Linked DNA regions of Homo sapiens: region 2 is linked to region 1. Evidence: promoter capture Hi-C in 16 types of primary human blood cells and fetal thymus (Javierre and others, 2016). All regions are on one chromosome and are shown on one strand. The core of a region is centred on a gene start or on the middle of the fragment in contact, and the rest is flanking DNA. Distances in the headings are between cores, read along the strand shown. Region 1 holds the start of IDI1 (isopentenyl-diphosphate delta isomerase 1). Region 2 holds the start of ENKUR (enkurin, TRPC channel interacting protein).

Region 1 (3,793 bases), core at 365-2,864:
TCACTGTCCCAGTCTGAGTGTGGGTGTGTGAGTGGCCCTGTGATGGAATGGCGTCCTGTCCAGGGCTGGTTCCCTCTTTGTGCCCTGAGCTACTGAAACAGGCTTCAGCTACACATGACCCAGAACTGGAATAATTAAGTAATAATTATCTTTTTATTCATCTTTCTTAAATGTATGTATAGCTCACATTTATTTCAATGTTTAATATTAGAATACTTTGGCCTTTAGAAGCTTAGTGATTTTTTTTTTCCTTGGCCAGAAGTATGCTTTAGGAACTTAATCCTTATTTTTTAGCCTCTGGTAAAATTGGTTTTGCTATACGTTGTTTCACTTAAAAGTCCTGATTCCCAAGAACGCACTGACAGCAGTGAGGACTTGCTGCGCATGCGGGAGGCCAGATTTTCTTATCTGTGTGAAGCCAGACATGAAAGAGATCTGTCAACACATAAAACAAAATCAAAGTCTGTTTTTTGTCTGGAAAAGATTTTTAATAAAAATATAACTTATGTTAGTGTCGTGTGTTTTTTAAGTGAATATTTTAATATGTTTAATTTCTATGTTAGTAAATAGCAGTAGTAAACAACAGTGAGCAAAAGCTTTTAGGTGTCCTCAGTACATTTTAAGAGAGTGCAAGCGTCCTGTGACCAAGAAGTTTGAGAACTGGTGCCCACCAGGTTCATCTCACAAGTTCAGTATTTTAAATTCCACACAAAAGGTAGAGGAAATAGCTGAATTCGCTTCAGCTGCGCATACATTTCACGATTATTTAAAAGTTTAGAGGGCTAGGCGCGGTGGCTCACACCCGGAATCTCAGCACTTCGGTAAGCTGAGCCAGGTGGATCACTTGAGGTCAGGAGTTCCAGACCAGCCTGACCAACATGCGGAAACCCGTCTCTACTAAAAATACGAAATAAGCCGGGCGTGGTGGCGCATGCCTGTAATTCCAGCTACTTGGGAGGCTGAGACGGGACAATTGCCTGAACCCGGGCGGCGGAGGTTGCTGTGAGCGGAGACTGCACCATTGCACTCAAGCCTGGGCAACAAGAATGAAACTGTCTCAAAAAAAAAAAATTTAGAACGTAGTCATGTACCTCGAAAGCGAACACTCCCAACATAGCGTGGAACACCCCACACCCCCGGCGACTTTGCTCCGCCTTGGTCCCGGTCGCAGACACCGCAGAAAGGCCATCGTTCTAGACATACGAGAACTCCCCGTGCAGCCAAACGCTGTAGTCCCAGCGGCGGAACTCGGGGGGGGGGAGGGGGGGGAGTGCCCAACCAGCCAGTCAGCAGTGACGTCCCGCCTTTCCTCCGTTTCCATTGGTCCAGCCATGCGGAGGTCGCTCCCATGGGACGCCGAGCTTCCGGCTGCAGGGCTTGGCGCCCGGGCGCTTTCGGATTGGGAGGGCTTCCTCCATGGAACGCGAGCCTCGAGACGTCTGACGTTAGGCACCGTTCGCAGCGCCTCGGGCTCGCACGGCAGGATCGAAAGCGTGATTGGCTGGCGGCGTCTGTGGTCTCGGGCACCGCCCAGTCGCGGGACGCTGCCTCTGCGGAACTGGGGGTGGGGCGTGTTGACCCCCTTAAAGGCGCCAGAGCCCGCGGTCACGGCTCAGGTTCCCGGTGCTTCGCGCGTCTGCCGTTGTCACAGGCCAGGGAGGTGGCACCACCAGGCGAAGCTTGGCGAGATTGTGTCGTCAAGCGCGTACGGGCGCCAATTGGCCGGGCGATGTGGCGTGGACTGGCGCTGGCGCGAGCGATTGGCTGCGCGGCCCGGGGGCGGGGCCAGTGGGCGGTGCGCGCCGCAGACTGTGCTCAAAGCGGGCGCCATCCGGGACCGGCGGTTGTCTGTGGCCGGAGGCTGATCAGGTACTGTGGACGGGCGGCGGAGTTCGGGAGACAGGGGCAGGGCGGCATCGGGGAGCTGCGGGACGGGGCGGGGAGGAGGCCCGAGGTCTGAGCCACCCGTGAGGTCTCGGCGCGGAGGCCTGGACAGCTGGGGGTGGCGGCGTTGGTCTCCCGAACTGGAGGGAGGCCGGGCCTTCCCGGGCTGTGGTGGGCGCCCGCGCCCCGTGGAAGGCGGAGGCGTGAGTCGGGGCGTCAGAGACGTTGCCATTCTTTGTCAGCGGAAAAGATCGTCGTCTGCGCACAGTCACCTGAGGTTTAGGAACTCGTGGAACTGGAAACCGAGTCGCAGGAGACTAAGAGTTGCGAGTCTCCCCTTAGAGAATTCAGAAACAAGCGTAGACAGCATCGTCAGAAACACGAGCGTGACGACACCGGCCTCCCCGTGCCGAGTCCACGCGTGTGACGCGGGTGCATACACCTGCGTCCGTGCAAGAGGGTGACAGCAACACACTCAAGGCGCTTCTCCTGGGAATGGAGCAGGAGAAGAGATGGGGAGCATCGCATAGATGGAACTAGACCTTTTTCTTGGGTTGGATGATGTGTTCCCGCGTCTACTACATGGTATTCTTTAAACGCATAAATAGACGTATTCATTTTATCTTGTGATTATGCAGCTTAGCTTTAAAATCTGAATTCTGAAAATCCTGAAAGAGCAATTGTCATTACAGCTGGGCGGTGGTGCACGCCTTTAATCCCAGCACTTTGGGAGGCGGAGTCGAAGGCTGCAGTGAGCCGAGATCGCGCCACTGCACTCCAGCTTGGGCGACAGACATAGCAAGACCCAGCCCCATCCCCCCGGAAAAAAAGTCATGTCAAAAAGTCTAGTAATTATGTAGTAACGAAACCTATCTTAGTGATCACCTAATATACAGTTGGCCTACTGTATCCTTGGGGTCCATATCCATGGATTTAACCAACTGCACATTATAAAATATTTGGAAAAAAATTTCATCTGTACTGAACATATACAGACTTATTCTGTAAACAATACAGCACAACTATTTATGTAGGATTTACATGTTTTAGATACTATAAGAGATCATCTACAGATGATAATTTAACGTTCGGCCCGCATCACTTAACAGGGATACTTTGGAGAAGTTCATTGTTAGGTACTTTCATCATTGTGGAAGCAGAGTGCGCTGACGCAGACCTAGACAGTGGAGCAGCTGGGCTGTGTGGTGTAGACAGACGGTGGAGCAGCTGGGCTGTGTGGTGTAGACAGTGGAGCAGCTGGGCTGTGTGGTGTAGACAAAGGACCAGACAGTGGAGCAGCTGGGCTGTGTGGTGTAGACAGTGGAGCAGCTGGGCTGTGTGGTGTAGACAGTAGACAGTGGAGCAGCTGGGCTGTGTGGTGTAGACAGTGGAGCAGCTGGGCTGTGTGGTGTAGACAGTGGAGCAGCTGGGCTGTGTGGTGTAGACAGTGGAGCAGCTGGGCTGTGTGGTGTAGACAGTGGAGCAGCTGGGCTGTGTGGTGTAGACAGTGGAGCAGCTGGGCTGTGTGGTGTAGACAGTGGAGCAGCTGGGCTGTGTGGTGTAGACAGTGGAGCAGCTGGGCTGTGTGGTGTAGACAGTGGAGCAGCTGGGCTGTGTGGTGTAGACAGTGGAGCAGCTGGGCTGTGTGGTGTAGACAGTGGAGCAGCTGGGCTGTGTGGTGTAGACAGTGGAGCAGCTGGGCTGTGTGGTGTAGACAGTGGAGCAGCTGGGCTGTGTGGTGTAGACAGTGGAGCAGCTGGGCTGTGTGGTGTAGACAGTGGAGCAGCTGGGCTGTGTGGTGTAGACAGTGGAGCAGCTGGGCTGTGTGGTGTAGACAGTGGAGCAGCTGGGCTGTGTGGTGTAGACAGTGGAGCAGCTGGGCTGTGTGGTGTAGACAGTGGAGCAGCTG
Region 2 (3,793 bases), core at 852-3,351, about 24 Mb before region 1:
TCAAAAGGCAAGGAGAATTGCAGATCAAATGTCTAAGAAAAAAGAAAAGTTTTTTTCCAAATGATTTAACAACCTGCTCATGGCTGTAAACTAACTATACCACAGTGAGGTCTTGCACAAATTGTTTAGCATTTTTTAAAGCATAATAAATATACAGACATCAGTGAAATTATTTTATTTCAGTAACCCCAGAACATCAAGGCTACCAAAGGCCAGTTGGTGCTAACTGCAGAAATCATGTTTTGCCCTTACTTGCTATTTCAGGAACTGATTAACACAAATAGTCTCAAGGTGTTCCTTCTAATTAGAAAATTCATAAGCTTTAGCCAGTGACTATCCACTTGGCTAATGGCGTTATCATTCCATGAGTCCTTGGTTCGAATCTTCGTACATACAGGAGGTTTCCCGCCAAATTTTTTCTCTATACTTGCTAAACAGAAATCCCAAACATAAAATACTCAAGGGCGAAAAGAAAGGGGCAAAGTGATATAGATTTGGATCTAGATCTAAATATAGATCTACAGATCCATCTATCTAAAATGTTTTGGAAGACAATCTGATGTGAAGAAATCTGGAGAATTTTCCCTAAGCGTCTGGGACAAAAATTAAAATCAACTGTATACAAAAAAAAAAAAAAGAAAAACTTAACGTATTCTTATGTAGTGAAATTCAGTAAGAGCCCAAAGTAAGGACCTACACATTCAGTAAAGCCTTTTTATACAGGAACTAAAAGGTTCACCAGGCCATTGTGTTGTTTTAATCACTCCGCCAGCCAACCAGGCAGTGAGAAACCCAGACTCAAGTGTGTTTTCTCTCCTCTCCGGGAAGCTTTATTTCCTTCGGGCAGAGTGGCCTCTGTACCGGTGGTTCAGAGGCATCCATCTTCCTCCCCAAATCCTATTACCAAAATGTCTTTTAAACACTCGGGTAAAAGCGTCTAAATGACTTTCCTACGGCAGGCCCATGTGCATAGATTTACGGGTGACCAGGTGGAACAAAAAGGAATAAAACCGCTTCTCAGAAGACAATTTTCCAACAAGGGACACCAAAAACTGGACAAAAACGTAAAGGCCCACTTAAAAGGCTTCTCCTCTTAGTTTAGGCTGCTCATTTACAAAGAGCAGGTCCACTGGTTCCTGGAGAACGACCTAGAGGAAGAGTCCCGACCCGGGGAAGAGCAGGCGCAGAGCCGACCCGGAGGACCGCCCAAGGGGCGGTCCCGGGAGCAGGGGCGGGAGGGCGAGCGCAGCAGGCGGAGGAGGCCGCGGGCCCCGTGCGCGCACTCACACACGTGGCGGGCAGGGCTGCGCGGCGTTCCGAGGAGCCTCGACCAGAAGCAGCAGGAAAAATGCGCGCAGAGTTGAGATGACCAGCGAGTAGCGGAAAGGGGAAGGGACGGTACGGGGAAAGGCATGCGATGGGAGCGGGCTGGCTTCTAGTTTTCCTTCCTTTCTCCTCCAATAACTCACCAAGGAAATCTCACTGAGAAGACGGGGGAAATGAAAGGAAATGGGGGAGCAGTGTCCACGAGCCGCTAAAGCCTCCACAGGAGACGGAGCACCGTACCTGCAGCTAGCTCCCCGGTCCCGCCCCCGCGCAGTGGACTCTGCGCCTGTGCCTGCGGCGGCCAGCGTGCCTCCGCTCCACGCCCTTCCCCGAGCGGCCTCGCGCAGGGCACGTGACTCTCCTTTCTCACTGTAGCCTATCCGAGCACTCCGATCTCCTCAGGCTCCTCCCCTCCCTCGTCTCCCTGGCGGCGCTGGCCTTGCGTCCTCGTGGTCTCAGCCGCTCGCTCCGCCCACACCGCGATTGGGGCCTGCTCACAAAAACCTTATTGGGTGACGCCTGCGCACCAGCTGCGCTTTGCCGTCTCTACTAGGATTTTTCTTTTTTCCCCAGATACACAGAAATAGAAAAGAGCACAGTTTTTAAGGGGACATCATTTTCACCCCGTTAACTTTCAAAGGCACGTAAAAACAGTGGCTTCCAAATGAGCTTCTCTAGCAGAAGGCGCTGCAGAAAGAGGGAAGAGGGGAGACCTAGTTTGCGGTGCTGCCTGCCACTTCCTCGTTGCCTAGTAACGGTTTCCACGGCAACCGCACAGTCAACGACGCTTAGCAATCCGGAGAGAAATAGGGTGTTTTCTTCCCGAGAGAGGACTGCTAAGAGGGGGTTAAAGGGGGACGATGTGAAGGAGAGAACCTGTGGTCCTTCAGAAGGCGAAGAAGAAAGAAAGGGGAAGCAGTGAAGAAAGGGACGGAGATACTGGGACAGGGAGAAAAAAGTTGTGGAGAGTAGCTTTTAAGGAGTCATTTGGTGGCCATGGATCCAACGTGCTCTTCTGAGTGCATTTATAACCTCATACCCAGTGACTTGAAGGAGCCTCCCCAGCCTCCTAGGTATGTGGATAAGCAAAGACTATCACTTGAAACAAGAATGGGGAATACTCAGTATTAATTAAGCATACATATACTGGAATTTTTAATAATAAATAAAATGTATTTTTGCCTCGATGAAGTAGCCTTGGAGGATAACTTGTTAGAGAAAAGGTCGAAATATCTAGGTATTCAGCATCTCACAGTTTTACAGAGAGGGCAGTCTGGCGCTGTGAGATGACCATTTTATTATATTACACTTAACCTCTTATTAATACGGTATGTGATTATTGTGTAATTTAATTATATGTGATATACAGCATAGTATGAAGTTTCATGTTGAAAAGAAAAAAATCACAATTCTATTATCTTGTTTAAGGATACTTGATGTTTGGTTTCAGGAGTTCGGTGTTGTATTTCTAACTGCACTACTCCCTCTCTAATGGGATAGGATAGGACTTTTCCCCCAAGATTTTTATGAAATATAAATTTACATTTGCTTTTGAGCCTCAGGTTTTTGATCAGTGAAACGAAATATCTACCACTATTAGGCAGTTTCTAAGGACTTTTTCAGATCTAATGGTTTAAATGGAAGGAAGAATTGGTGGATAGATAATGAACCAAAAAATATGTAATTGAGTTGAAATTTTACATAGGTCTTAGAACCTCTTAAATTCTCCAAATCTCAAAAACGTGCAAAGGAAGCACTTCAGTTACTCCCATCTGTAGGGACTTCTTAGAACTTACTTAAATCTGTGGGGAGCAAAGAAAGTAGTGGAGAAAATCTCATTTCTCCTAGGACTTGAAATGTTTCCTGTCTTTTACCATCATCCTTGTCCGTATGCAAGTCAAAACCACATTTGAAAAGGACTGGACTAAAAATCGGGCCTAGCAATTAATTGTCTTTGTGAACTTTAGAATAAAGTTTCATTTGTTTACTGATCTGTGAGATAAATGTACCAGATAATATCCAAGGCCCCTTTTAGATCTAATGGTCAATTATTTTTACTAGTATTAGGGTAATAGCTTCAACAAGTAGGCAGCTTCTTCAATTTTAAGTATCTGGTTTAAATTAGAGCAGTAACTGTATTACATCTCCATTAGCATATCAACATCTAGAGACTGGAAAGAGGAATGTAAAGTAAGTTATGGCACAGTTGCAGAATTTATTTTCAAATTTTCTATTGTTGCACCAACTTTTGGTTTCAAATTCCTGCATATTACATGAGATAAAACTCCTCTATAACAGATTGGTAGATTGTATTTCTATAGAATATTGAATTTGAGAGTTATTTTATTAGGTAGGTATTCTGTTCTTTGGCAAATTAAAAAGCTTTACTGCATCTAGACGATTTTTTTTTTCAAAAAAAATTTATAGGAACAGTCTTTATTCATTTGGCAAGCATTAATGGAGCCCC

Evidence for each region. Contacts are between HindIII fragments. The CHiCAGO score rates a contact against its expected background, and 5 or more counts as called.
Region 2: the fragment with the promoter of ENKUR here is called in contact with the fragment with the promoter of IDI1 in region 1 in 1 of 17 cell types (fetal thymus); the score reaches 13.3 in fetal thymus.

What each region holds. Positions count from the first base shown.
Region 1 is chr10:1,046,940-1,050,732 of GRCh38, reverse strand. IDI1 (isopentenyl-diphosphate delta isomerase 1) reads left to right here and starts at 1,614. Exons shown (of 5, transcript NM_004508.4): 1 at 1,614-1,869. The coding sequence starts at 1,730. RefSeq lists enhancers at 966-1,105, 777-1,306, 1,566-1,615, 1,307-1,836, 1,837-2,367 and silencers at 1,706-1,925, 1,936-2,025. The HindIII fragment of the contact is 1,083 bases long and covers 599-1,681 here.
Region 2 is chr10:25,014,466-25,018,258 of GRCh38, reverse strand. It overlaps ENKUR (enkurin, TRPC channel interacting protein), which reads left to right and starts at 2,101. Exons shown (of 6, transcript NM_145010.4): 1 at 2,101-2,399. The coding sequence starts at 2,323. It overlaps THNSL1 (threonine synthase like 1), which reads right to left and starts at 1,647. Exons shown (of 3, transcript NM_024838.5): 1 at 1,567-1,647. RefSeq lists enhancers at 926-1,005, 1,605-1,899, 1,210-1,972 and silencers at 1,256-1,335, 1,516-1,715, 2,046-2,095. The HindIII fragment of the contact is 2,880 bases long and covers 831-3,710 here.